3 separate regions of the Homo sapiens genome follow, and regions 1 and 2 are each linked to region 3. Evidence: promoter capture Hi-C in human tissues and cell types (Jung and others, 2019). All regions are on one chromosome and are shown on one strand. Each heading gives the region's core, a stretch centred on a gene start or on the middle of the fragment in contact. The rest is flanking DNA. Distances are from core to core; before and after follow the strand shown. Region 1 overlaps STAT3 (signal transducer and activator of transcription 3). Region 2 overlaps STAT5A (signal transducer and activator of transcription 5A). Region 3 holds the start of NAGLU (N-acetyl-alpha-glucosaminidase).

Region 1 (4,331 bases), core at 1-2,500, 200 kb before region 3:
TTCCATTCAGATCTTGCATGTCTGCGAAGGAAGAAAAAACTCCTTGACCTGAGGGAATACTCCTTGACCTGAGGGAATACTCCTTGACCTGAGGGAATACTCCTGGACCTGAGGGAATACTCCTGGACCTGAGGGAATACTCCTGGACCTGAGGGAATACTCCTTGACCTGAGGGAATACTCCTGGACCTGAGGGAATACTCCTGGACCTGAGGGAATACTCCTGGACCTGAGGGAATACTCCTGGACCTGAGGGAATACTCCTGGACCTGAGGGAATACTCCTGGACCTGAGGGAATACTCCTGGACCTGAGGGAATACTCCTGGACCTGAGGGAATACTCCTTGACCTGAGGGAATACTCCTGGACCTGAGGGAATACTCCTGGACCTGAGGGAATACTCCTGGACCTGAGGGAATACTCCTTGACCTGAGGGAATACTCCTGGACCTGAGGGAATACTCCTGGACCTGAGGGAATACTCCTGGACCTGAGGGAATACTCCTGGACCTGAGGGAATACTCCTGGACCTGAGGGAATACTCCTTGACCTGAGGGAATACTCCTGGACCTGAGGGAATACTCCTGGACCTGAGGGAATACTCCTGGACCTGAGGGAATACTCCTGGACCTGAGGGAATACTCCTGGACCTGAGGGAATACTCCTTGACCTGAGGGAATACTCCTTGACCTGAGGGAATACTCCTGGACCTGAGGGAATACTCCTGGACCTGAGGGAATACTCCTGTCCTTAATGACCAGGCTCCTTTGAGGACCCGTACCTCCCTTGCGCCCCGCCCGCCTTAAGATCTAAACAGAGTTAAGACAAATGAGTCTTTCAACTCAACAACACAAACTCACTTTCTAGAGATTTTAACATCTCTAATATTCACTTGCCTCCTTGACTCTTGAGGGTTTTATAGTTGAAATCAAAGTCATCCTGGAGATTCTCTACCACTTTCATTTTCTGTTCTAGATCCTGTTTAAAATAAGCAAACAAAAAAACAGAAGTAAAGAAAGATTTCCTTGGGAACAGAAAATATAAAGTTTCTGAGGAGAATTCAAATGAAGCCAAAACCTCAAAAAAGATACATGCAGGACCTGCAGGCAGTATCCCCAAGAGAAGGCTCCCTGTTGGCCAGGTGCAGTGGCTCACGCCTGTAATGCCAGCACTTTGAGAGGCTGAGTTGGGAGGATCACTTGAGCCCAGGAGTTCATGATCAGCCTGGACAACACAGGGAGACCCCCATCTCTACAAATTTTTTTTTTTTAATTAGCTGGGCGTGGTGGTGCATGCCTGTGGTCCCGGCTACTTGGGAGGATGAGGTAGGAGGATCGCTTGGGCCTGAGAGGTCGAGGCTGCAGTGAGCTGTGATCATGCCACTGCAGCCCAGCCTGAGTGGCAGAGCAAGACCCTGTCTCAAAAAAAAAAAAAAAAATTAATGAAAGCTCCCTGCCCGAGGCTTGTAACTTGCATCACCTGCACTCTCTTCCGGACATCCTGAAGGTGCTGCTCCAGCATCTGCTGCTTCTCCGTCACCACGGCTGCTGTGGGGTGGTTGGCCTGGCCCCCTTGCTGCCAAAAAGGAGGTCAATGCACATGTGAACACAGAACTATGGGGAGAGGAATACCTCTACCCAGCTTCCATCCCACCCTAACTACCCTTCTTGTTTGGCTTGAGACGCTGCTGCCATCACAAGAGGAAGGGAAACAGAGGCAGTGGTGCTGTCACTACACAGGTGACACTACACAGGTCATACCATAAACCCCCTTTATGGCACTAAGAGACCACATGTTCAGCTAAGACATGGTCTATGCCTTCAAAAACCTCATGGGCAAGTATGTCAAAAAATTCAAAACAATTTATGACAGCAGATGTTGGATGTCTACTTAAACGTGGTGTCCAGTATATTTCTGAGGGATAATAAAAAAAAAGTCCTGCCCTAGGGATGAAATTCCATATTAAAAGATATTATCTTGGGGAGAAGGGGAGGCTGGTACCTTGGAAAATGTCAAATAGCACATGGAAAAAGAAAAAGAAGAAAGAAGGCTGGATGTAGCAGCTCACACCTATAATATCAGCACTTGGGAAGGCTGAAGTGGGAGGACTGCTTGAGGCCAGGAGTTCAAAACTAGCCTAGTCAACATAGTGAGGCCCCATCTCGAATGAATAAATGAATGAATGAATTAAAGAAATAACAAAAAATAAATAGCATATGAAACTTAAAAATTACAGGTTCGTGCCAGGTGCGGTGGCTGATGCCTGTAATCCCAGCACTTTGGGAGGCCAAGGTGGGCAGATTACCTGAGGTCAGGAGTTTGAGACCAGCCTGACCGACACGGAGAAACCCATCTCTACTAAAAATACAAAGTTAGCTGAGCTTGGTGGTGCATGCCTGTAATCCCAGCTACTCGGGAGGCTGAGGAAGGAGAATCGCCTGAACCCGGGAGGTGGAGGTTGTGGTGAGCCAAGACTGCGCCATGCACTCCAGCCTGAGCAACAAAAGTGAAACTCCATCTCAAAAAAAAAAAAAAAAAATTACAGGCTTGGGCTAGGCATGGTAGCTCCCACCTATAATCCTAGCACTTTGGGAAACCAAGGCAGGAGGATCACTTGAGGCTGGGAGTTTGAGACCGGCCCAGGGAACATAGAAAGAGACCTCATCTCAACCAAAAAAAAAAAAAAATTTTTTTTTAACTAGCTGGGCATGGTGGCATATACCTGTAGTTCTAGCTACTTGGGAGGCTGAGGTGGGAGGATCATTTAAGTCCAGAAGTTTGAGGCCACACTACAGCCAGTTTTATGGGCAACCATTCTCTTCCTTTCCCATGGTCCCTATCCAAGCCCACAGAATACAAACTTCTTAGAAGTTTTGGGAAGGTGACCCATGCCCCTACTTCTTCCCACAGTGACAGTGACTCATCTGATTGGTAAGATGGAGAGAAAGACTCTGTGTACACACAGATCTTCAAAGAACCCAGCACCTAAGCTGGTGCCTCCCTCCTCTCACTCTTGCCTTCCTAGGGCCCACCATAAGCAAGAGCAGCAGCCTGGTTTCTAGAAGCAGGTCTAGAGGCCTATCCCTCTGCCTTGTTGGTCTATGGCAGCTGAAGCTCCATATGGATGGCTGGGGTGGGGTGGGGGTGCTGCTCTGCACATCCAGTCTCTCTACCCCAAGATCTAACTCAGGGCACAGGCATTGGAAAGCCCCTATGGTTACCAGCTCAAGCCACACTTTCCATTCTAGTTTTACCAACAATACAGCTGATGTTTTAACCTTCATTCCTTTCTCATGTCTATTTCTCAAGCAGGACTACACTTAAAGGGAGAAAACATGATTAACGATCACCCACAGAAACCCACCTCTAATACCTTCGTAAAAAACTGTATTGGCTCCCCACTGCTTCCAGCTATAAACATCTCAGGCCAACACAGAAAGCTGTTTCACACAATTGATAACTTCAACTTTCCCTCCCTGTGCCTTGGTCACCCCAGACTCCCAACTCTTCCCTGCATGCAGTGTGTTTCCACACTCTCTTCCCACCCGCTATCCACTCAGCATGGCCTGGGCTTCAGCCCAAACACACCTGAACTCACTCACCTTCAAATTCAGTTCAAATGTTTCTTTTCCTGAGAAATCTTATTCAACTTCCTTAGACAAAATGACACACATCCTTTTCTGTGTTTTTCTCACTTTGAGTGTTTGTGTACTTATAATCCCAACTAGCCTGACAGCCCTTGGTAGCAGGGATTACATCCACTCTTCTATCTTTAACCAATTCTAGACACTTAAGAGCATGCCAGGTATTGTAAACAGAAAAAATAGCAGTGAGGCCTGGGTTGAGGCCACAAATAACCAACTTATAGCTTTATATCAGGGGTTGCAAACTTTTTCTCTAAGGGACAGAGGGTAAATATTTTTGGTTTCCTGGGTCATACAGTCCCTGCCACAAATAGCCCTGCCACTGCAGCACCAAAGCAGCCACAGATAATGCATAAATAAATGAGTGTGGCTGGGTTCCGAAAAAACCTCATTTACAAAAACAAGCAGCAGGCTGGATTTGGGCCACGCTCACAGTTTGCAGACCCCTAATCCGTACGATTGAAAACATCCTTGGGATAACTTTGGCTTTCCTACCTCCCATGGTAAGTTGGAGCCTCTATCCAAATTGACTTAAACCACTTATTTTTATCTTGTGGAGCAGGATAAAATACAAAGGTTTTCCACAGCAGAAAATCCTAGTGCTGCCTGAGCAAATGCCTGTGTGCTAACCTCTTGGGCTACAGGGCACTGCACAGTAAGTGTTACCTACCACCTCGCTCACACCTGAG
Region 2 (4,738 bases), core at 886-3,385, 240 kb before region 3:
GTCTCACTCTATCATCTAGGCTGGAGTGCAGTGGCGTGATCTCGGCTCACTGCAACCTCCACCCCTTGGGTTCAAGAGATTCTCATGCCTCAGCCTCCCAAGTAGCTAGGATTACAGGGGCCCACCACCATGCCCGGCTAATTTTTGTATTTTTAGTAGAGACAGGGTTTCACCCTGTTGGCCAGGCTGGTCTCGAATTCCTGACTTCAAGTGATCCACCTGCCTCGGCCTCCCGAAGTGCTGGGATTACAGGCATGAGCCACCACGCCCGGCCTATTACGTATTTATTGTTGTGGACATGGATTTCAGGATTTACTCAGTAGACATTTATTGAGGTCTTACTGTGTGTCCGATGCTGGGCTATCATCAGAGAAACACATAAAGGCCTGGTTCTTGCCTGGAAGGAATTCTGGCAGTGATGGATTCTCTAGAGATGAGCTGAGTGCTAAGGGGGCCTAGGTGGAAAAAGCACCCAACTCAGATTGGGGCAGGCTGGCAGGGGAGCGTCCTGTGGACAGGCATGTCTGAGCTACAGTGGAGAAAGGCAGGAGAGGAGGGATGAATTTTCTAATGAAAAGACAGCAGCTGCGAGAGCAGGAGGGCATGAATCTTCTTATCACATTGGAAGACTTGTAAGTGGTCAGTGTAACTGGGGAGAAGGAACCAAGTGGGGAGTTGCCATGGATAAAAATAGATAGAGAGGGCCAGGCGTGGTGGCTCACATCTGTAATCCCAGCACTTTGGGAGGCCAAGGTGGGCGGATCACCTGACGTCAGAAGTTCGAGACCAGCCTGGCCAACATGGTGAAACCCAGTCTCTACTAAAAAATACAAAAATTAGCTAGGCGTGGTGGCGGGCGCCTGTAATCCTAGCTACTCGGGCGGCTGAGGCAGGAGAATTGCTTGAACCCAGGAGGGGGATGTTGCAGTGAGCTGAGATTGCACCACTTCACTCCAGCCTGGGCAACAGAGCGAGACTCTGTATAAAAAAAAAAAAAATAGGGGTTAGAAACCAGGTCACAAAGGGTCTTCCAGCACAGCCCCTGTGTCCCTGACTTGTTGCCATCACAGAGCTATCTGCAAACCTAAAAATGACTTCAGCCTCATTGACAAATCCATGTCCATGGTGCTGGTGCTGTCATGGTCTGGGAGCTCATTCCTTCCTCCAACCATACAACTGTTCCTGAACACCCCTGGCATTCTAGGGCTTGGGGATTCTGTAGTTCACAGGAAAGGCAAGGTCCTAGCCCTTGGGAACCTCACATCCTTGTGCAGGGAGACAGACAGAAACATGTAAGCAAATACAAGAACAACACACTTTTAGATAGGACTACTGTGAATTGGCTCGTCAGAGATGACCCCTCTGCAATGGTACCAGTTAAAGTGCTTTGCCTCAGGAGGATCTGATGCCAGAATGTTCCAGACTGTTGGAACAATAAGTGCAAGGGCCCCAGGGCAGGAACATGCCTGTGTGTTCAAGGAACAGAAACAGAAAGCACACATTCCCAGCGAGCTGGGGTTGGAGGTAGGCAGGGCTATGGCCAGCAGACACCATGGGAAGGGGTTTGGATTTTATTCTGAGAACAGTTCATTGGAAAGCCTCTGAGGACTTGTTCCTCTTCATCCATGTGCTCCCTCCCTTTGTGACCTGGTTTCTACCCCTCTCTCTCTATTTTTTTTTTTTTTGAAACGGAGTCTCGCTGTGTTGCCAAGGCTAGAGTGCAGTGGCGCAATCTCGGCTCACTGCAACATCCCCCTCCTGGGTTCAAGCGATTCTCCTGAATGTGCTGAAGGAATGGCTGGATCCAAGGGGAGCTTGTTGATGCCTCCCCTCTAACTTCATTTCGGGGTCTCCAGGATGCCTGTGAGAGTTTCGGCCTCTTCCCTCTTCCTTCAGTCACAAGGGGGTCTTAAGTGAGATGGTGTGTGTTCACACAGCCCTGTTCCTCCCTATGTCCCTAGGATCTACTGCAGTCCATGGTATTGAGTCAGCAAATAAATGTAGAGCGAGGGGTCATCATCATTAGTGGGAAAACCCAGGTGACACCTGGGACGTGTTGAGTTCTAGTCCCTGGGAGGAAATTAGATGGACCCTGTTTGGAATACTCTAGTGGAGGGCAGCTCTGACATAGATATTTGGACTTTGAAGGTGTTACTATCTGCCGTTATCTGCCAGGTCACCTGTTTCTCCTTTCTCTTTCCCTTTTCTATCCCAATTCTGGCAAATGACTCCTTCTGATGCAAATGATCCTTCCTTCTTGCCCTAGTTTCCCTTCTTACCCTAGTTTGGGGTTTGGGGTTTGGGGTCTGTAGTATTGGTGTTTCCTAATGCCTGTGGTCTTCTCCCATCCTCTCTTCCCCGAGTTATTTCCATTCCATCTGTCTCCAGTGCAGCTCTCCGGCTGGGATCCTGGTTGACGCCATGTCCCAGAAGCACCTTCAGATCAACCAGACATTTGAGGAGCTGCGACTGGTCACGCAGGACACAGAGAATGAGCTGAAGAAACTGCAGCAGACTCAGGAGTACTTCATCATCCAGTACCAGGAGAGCCTGAGGATCCAAGGTGAGGCGCGGTGGAGGCAGTGTGCATCCGGAGGGTGGGAGTGAGGAACATTCTATGGACTCCTAGAGGGTAGAGCTGGGTCAGTGTCCATCTCCTCAGCACTTTGCCCAAAGCCTGGTAGAAGCAATGGCTCCCGGTGATTGAGCCCCTGCCGTGGGTCACACTTGGCACACATTATTTAATTCAACCCTCTCAACAAGCCTATGAAGTGAACAGTTGTGTTATCCCCCCTTTTGCAGATGGTAAAAGTGAGGTTCAAAGAGAACAAGTAACTTGGCCTAGGTTGCCTGTAAATTACAGAACTGGATCTCAACTAGAGATATATCATAAAACTCCTGTACTTTATTAACCAGTATTCTCTCCTTAATGGTATGTATTCTGTAAATATCGACACAAATAGGTAAATATGAACAGTGCTCCCTAACCAGAGGGAGGACTTGGATTGGAAGTCTTCTGGTTGAACCAGGCTGGGAGAGGTGGAACTTCCAAAGTGGGCCTTCTTGAGCCTCACGGATAGGATGTGGGCCTGGGGGAAGGGGTGACAGTAGAAAATTCTCCTGTATCCTAGGTCTGTAGTTCGCCAATGGCTCCCATGATAAAGATGTGGGGAAATTAAAAAATCAAATTAGCTTGAAAGGAACTATCCCCAGGTACAATTTGAGGAGTCATGGGACATGGCCCATCTATTAATATGTCCCATTCCAGACTGACCCCAGAAATGTAACACCTCATCTTAGTGAGAACAAGGGGTGTCAAACTGCTTTTTCCTTTACTCTTTTTAATCTGATTTCTTAAGGTAGACCTTAGGTCATTGATTTTAGACCTTTCTTCTTTTCTTTTCTTTCTTTTTCTTTTCTTTTTTTTGAGACAATCTTGCTCTGTCGCCCAGGCTGGAGCACAGTGGCATGATTTCGGCTCACTGCAGCCTCTGCTTCCCAGCTTCAAGAAATTCTTGTGCCTCAGTCTCCCGCATAGCTGGGACTACAGGTGCAGGCCACCACGCCCAGCTGATTTTTTTAGAATTCTATTGTAGCTATTTAAGCTCTCTTCCTAACCCTGCACTGTCAGTGCTTTGTGTACACTGAGACCAGCACAATGCCTGAATATTGCAGCTATTATGTAAATACTTGCAGGATAATTCTAAATGTTTGTTTGTTTGTTTGTTTATTTATTATTGCCCAGGCTGGAGTGCAGTGGCACGATCTCATCTCACTGCGACCTCTGCCTCTCAGGTTCAAACTATTCTCATGCCTCAGCCTCCTCAGTAGCTGGGACTACAGACATGCACCACCATGCCTGGCTAATTTTTTTTTTTTGTAGTTTTAGTAGATACAGGGTTGTGCCGTGTTGTCCAGGCTGGTTGCAACCTCTAGCCTCGAGTGATCTGCCTGCCTCGGCCTCCCAAAGTGCTAGGATTATAGGCGTGAGCCACGGTGCCCAGCCAATACTGACAGGATAATTCTAAGAGAATTTCCCCTCATCTGAATCTATCCCAGACTGGCCCTAGAAGAAGGGCAGCTCCTTCTGAGAATGGAAACGGAAGATTTTGGGCGGTTATTCCTACCCAAGTCCTTAGACTGTCGACAGTATTTCTGATCCCGTGCCTGGCTTTTCTGTTTCCTGTGCATGGTGGCGGATTAGGTTTGGATTCAGGTTGGGTTTGGATCTATCATGCAGTGTCTTCTCAGTCCCATTTGTCAAGTTCACTCAGCAGAAACACAGACTATTGATCTGCTTTTGCCAGGGAAGGCTCAGCTGCCTCCAGTGGAGTAGGGAAATTGCTTCCCGTCTCCCTGGCCTCCTTCCTAAAAGCTTCTGCAAATTTCCAGGAGAGCCCTAAGTGGGTCCCTTGCATAGGAAGGCTGGGCCCAGGTGTTGGGATCACCACCACCCTCCCTGTGGCTGGGCAGGATACCCGAGGTAGCCGTGCAGACACCTCGGATCTGTCCGTGCCTGGATGATCCTCTTCCTGCTCGATACCTGCAGTGAGATTGGAGCCATATTTCTGAGTTCTAGCTCTGGGCTGTTCCTGGCTACATAGAGTTGCTTTTGTCTGTCCCAGCTTGTGCATCCCATGGGTCAGGGCTGGGGTCAGAGTGACGTGGCCCTCAGGGGCCAGCCAGGAGCTCGACCAAGACATGCTGGTGCGCGCATCTTCTGACTCAGCTCAAGCAA
Region 3 (4,237 bases), core at 1,738-4,237:
TTTTGTATGTAGTTGGGTTTTTTGGAGTCCGAAGGTATCCATCTGCAGAAATTGAGGCCCAAATTGAATTTGGATTCAAGTGGATTCTAAATACTTTGCTTATCTTGAAGAGAGAAGCTTCATAAGGAATAAACAAGTTGAATAGAGAAAACACTGATTGATAATAGGCATTTTCATGGTCTTTTTAATGTTTTCTGTTGTTAAACATTTCAAGATTTATTGATTTTTTTTTTCACTTTCCCCATCACACTCACAGGCACGCTCACACTTTTTATTTGCCGTAATGAACCGTCTAGCCCCTGTGGAGATCTCCTATGAGAACATGTGTTTTCTGATAACTCACAACCCTACCAATGCTACTCTCAACAAGTTCACAGAGGAACTTAAGAAGTATGGAGTGACGACTTCGGTTTGAGTTTGTGATGCTACATATGATAAAGCTCCAGTTGAAAAAGAAGGAATCCACGTTCTAGATTGGCCATTTGATGATGGAGCTCCATCCCCTAATCAGATAGTAGATGATTGGTTAAACCTGTTAAACACCAAATTTCGTGAAGAGCCAGGTTGCTGTGTTGCAGTGCATTGCGTTGTGGAATTGGGAAGGGCACCTGTGCTGGTTGCACTTGCTTTGATTGAATGTGGAATGAAGTACGTAGATGCAGTTCAGTTTATAAGACAAAAAAGAAGGGGAGTGTTAAATTCCAAACAGCTGCTTTACTTAAGATGCGATTACGCTTCAGAGATACCAATGGGCATTGCTGTGTTCAGCAGAAAGAAATGTAAATGAAGGCTGACTTGATTGTGGCATTTAGAGGGAACTCCTGGTACCTGGAAATGTGAATCTGGACTCTTACCTGTGTCATCAAAGTAGTGATGGATTCAATACTCCTCAACCACTCTCCTAATGATCAGAACAAAAGCAAACAAGAAATCTCTCTATAAAATGAATAAAATGTTTAAGAAAAAAAAAGAGTTCGAGACCAGCCTGGACAACATGGTGAAATCCCATCCCTACAAAGGTTAACTGGGCTTGGTGGCACGTGCCTGTAATCCCAGCTACTCAGGAGACTGAGACAGGAGAATGGCTTGAACCTGGGTGGCTGAGGTTCCCGTGAGCTGAGATTAAAAAAAAAAATCATACTTCCCTAGTATCTAAAGTTGATATCTGATTCCAGGCCTCTTTCAACTTTTTTTGTTTGTTTGTTTGTTTTTTTGATATGGAGTCTCGCTCTGTCATCCAGGCTGGAATGCAAATGGCACGATCTTGGCTCACTGCAACTTCCACCTCCAGCGTTCAAGCGATTCTCCTGCCTCAGCTTCCCAAGTAGCTGGGACTACAGGCGTGTGCCACCAAGCCTGGCTAACTTTTTTTCTTTTTTTTTTTTTTGAGAGGGAGTCTTGCTCTGTCCCCCAGGCTGGAGTGCAGTGGTGTGATCTTGGCTCACTGCAACCTCCGCCTCTCCGGTTCACGCCATTCTCCTGCCTTAGCCTCCCGAGTAGCTGGGAGTACAGGCGCTCGCCAACACGCCCGGCTAATTTTTTGTATTTTTAGTAGAGATGGAGTTTCACCGTGTTAGCCAGGAGGGTCTTGATCTCCTGACCTCGTATCCGCCCGTCTTGGCCTCCCAAAGTGCTGGGATTACAGGCGTGAGCCACCGCGCCCAGCACCTGGCTAACTTTTGTATTTTTAGTACAGACGGGGTTTCACTGTATGTTGGCCAGGCTGGTCTCAAACCCCTGACTTGAGGTGATCTGCAAGCCTCAGCCTCCCAGAGTGCTGGGATTACAGGCGTAAGCCACCGCTCCTGGCCTAAGGTTGGCTATTTTTATGGTTATTTCTTGATTATATGATAAACAAGGGGTGGGTTAGTAATGAATTTTTCAGAAAAGGGGTGGGGATCCCCCCCAACTGAAGGTTCCTCCACTGTTTAGACCATATAGGGTAACTTCTGGACGTTGCCATGGCATTTGTAAACTGCCTGGCGCTGCTAGGAGTGTCTTTAGCATACTAATGCATTATAATTAGCGTATAATGAGCAGTGAGGACGATCAGAGGTCACCTTCCTGTCTTGGTTTTGGCAGGTTTTGACCAGTTTCTTTGCTGCATTCTGTTTTATCAGCGGGGTCTTGTGACCTTTTATCTTGTGCTGACCTCCTGTCTCATCCTGTGACGAAGGCCTAACCTCCTGGGAATTCAGCCCAGCAGGTCTCTGCCTCATTTTACCCAGCCCCTGTTCAAGATGGAGTCGCTCTGGTTGGAAACTTCTGACAAAATGACAGCTCCTGTTATGTTGCTGCTGCTGCCGCCAATGGACAGCCTTTAACGTGCCCGCCAGCCCTGCTCCACCGCCGGCCTGGGCTCACATGGCCCCATCCCTCCTCGAACCTCCTAGCCTGTTAGTTACTCAAATCTGCAAGCTCTCTGCCTTCTCAGGGCCTTCAATAAATGCATTTCTTCTGTCTGGAAGGCTCTTCCTTTCCCTCTTCTAGCCAATTCCTATTCATCCCTGAGTTTCAGATTAAAAGTCACTTCCTTTGGAAACCTTACTTCGCTACTTCGCTACTTACTGCACTACTTCGCAGCATCACAACTATGATGGAAATCCTTACTTACGTTAAATATCTGGTTTCTAGGTCACCTCCCTGACGGGGACGGTAGGGACCGTCTTCTCGTTCATCAGTAGGGAAGTAGCTATGGCAGTGCCTGATACAAAATAAACTCCAAATGTGTATTTATTAGATGGTTGGATGGAAGTTATTTGCGTGTGAAAGCGCGTTTTACCCGAAGGCGCTCTGTGAGGGCCAGCGGGTCCCCTTCGGCCCTGGAGCCGGGGTCACACGCTCCCCACCGCGTGCGGTCACGAGACGCCCCCAAGGGAGTATCCTGGTACCCGGAAGCCGCGACTCCTGGCCCTGAGCCCGGGCTTAGCCTTCGGGTCCACGTGGCCGGAGGCCGGCAGCTGATTGGACGCGGGCCGCCCCACCCCCTGGCCGTCGCGGGACCCGCAGGACTGAGACCATGGAGGCGGTGGCGGTGGCCGCGGCGGTGGGGGTCCTTCTCCTGGCCGGGGCCGGGGGCGCGGCAGGCGACGAGGCCCGGGAGGCGGCGGCCGTGCGGGCGCTCGTGGCCCGGCTGCTGGGGCCAGGCCCCGCGGCCGACTTCTCCGTGTCGGTGGAGCGCGCTCTGGCTGCCAAGCCGGGCTTGGACACCTACAGCCTGGGCGGCGGCGGCGCGGCGCGCGTGCGGGTGCGCGGCTCCACGGGCGTGGCGGCCGCCGCGGGGCTGCACCGCTACCTGCGCGACTTCTGTGGCTGCCACGTGGCCTGGTCCGGCTCTCAGCTGCGCCTGCCGCGGCCACTGCCAGCCGTGCCGGGGGAGCTGACCGAGGCCACGCCCAACAGGTACCGCCCCGAAGCTTCCCCGCGTCCGCCCGAGGCGCTTACCCCCTCCCGGAGCCGCTGCCACCCAAATCGGGAGGCTGAGCGGGGAGCGCTGGCCGGAAGGCCCAGCTGCGCCGCCTCCAGCAGCTGTGTGGCCTTGAGCCAGCCACTCTGCCTTTCAGAGCCTCGGCTGGCCCACCTGAAAAACGGAAAGAAGACGCCTACCGTGCAGTGTTATTGTGAGGATTTGCACGATGATGGGCATAGAATTTGTGGTGCACAATTGGTGATGAGTGAATTTTCTTGCCTTCCTCCCCCACCTTCTCTTTGAACCTGCGGACTGAGGAAGGACGCCTCCATCCCCCACCCTACAGGCCTGTGTTCCAGCGCCTGCCACACTATGGAGTGATGTGTTCACACAGCTGTCCTCCCCTGCCCATCTGTTAGACTGTGGGGGCAGGGATTCCCCGTTCCAGGAAAACACCGTGCAGAGGAGGGGCTCTGGCAGTGTGGCATGAAAGTGGAATATGCCACCCAAATACCCGCCAGGCTAGAGGGCCCTGGGAGAGTGCAGGGGACGAGTGCCTCAGAAGCCCAGCCCCGGTACCTGGTCTCAGCTCCACCTGGGGTGGGTCCCAGTGTGCAGCAGAAGGGCCGAGTTTGGAGCCCCTCCCCTCTCCTCTAGGTGGGGGATGGGGGATTTGTTCCAGGGCCGTGGACCCTCCAGGGTGGGATGCGCCCCTGCTCATGACACTGCCCGCAGGTACCGCTATTACCAGAATGTGTGCACGCAAAGCTACTCTTTCGTGTGGTGGGACTGGGCCCGCTGGGAGCGAGAGATAGACTGGATGGCGCT

The links. Contacts are between HindIII fragments. The study calls those that stand out against the background at their distance.
Region 1: a fragment that was not itself captured here is called in contact with the fragment with the promoter of NAGLU in region 3 in 2 of the 25 tissues and cell types used here (IMR-90 fibroblasts and adrenal gland).
Region 2: a contact is called between a fragment that was not itself captured here and the fragment with the promoter of NAGLU in region 3, in 1 of the 25 tissues and cell types used here (thymus).

The regions. Positions count from the first base shown.
Region 1 is chr17:42,337,837-42,342,167 of GRCh38, forward strand. STAT3 (signal transducer and activator of transcription 3) reads right to left here. Exons shown (of 24, transcript NM_139276.3): 5 at 1,478-1,573; 6 at 895-976; 7 at 1-21. Among named protein-coding and RNA genes, the nearest start is that of STAT3, 48 kb to the right of the region's middle. RefSeq lists a silencer at 1-17. The HindIII fragment of the contact is 7,087 bases long and covers 1-4,331 here.
Region 2 is chr17:42,293,231-42,297,968 of GRCh38, forward strand. STAT5A (signal transducer and activator of transcription 5A) reads left to right here. Exons shown (of 19, transcript NM_001288718.2): 5 at 2,389-2,563. Among named protein-coding and RNA genes, the nearest start is that of STAT5A, 7.1 kb to the left of the region's middle. The HindIII fragment of the contact is 8,359 bases long and covers 1-4,738 here.
Region 3 is chr17:42,533,254-42,537,490 of GRCh38, forward strand. It overlaps NAGLU (N-acetyl-alpha-glucosaminidase), which reads left to right and starts at 2,988. Exons shown (of 6, transcript NM_000263.4): 1 at 2,988-3,402; 2 at 4,145-4,237. The coding sequence starts at 3,020. It also overlaps the pseudogene PTP4A2P1. RefSeq lists enhancers at 2,701-2,780, 3,294-4,031 and silencers at 2,891-3,300, 3,421-3,490. The HindIII fragment of the contact is 7,033 bases long and covers 1-4,078 here.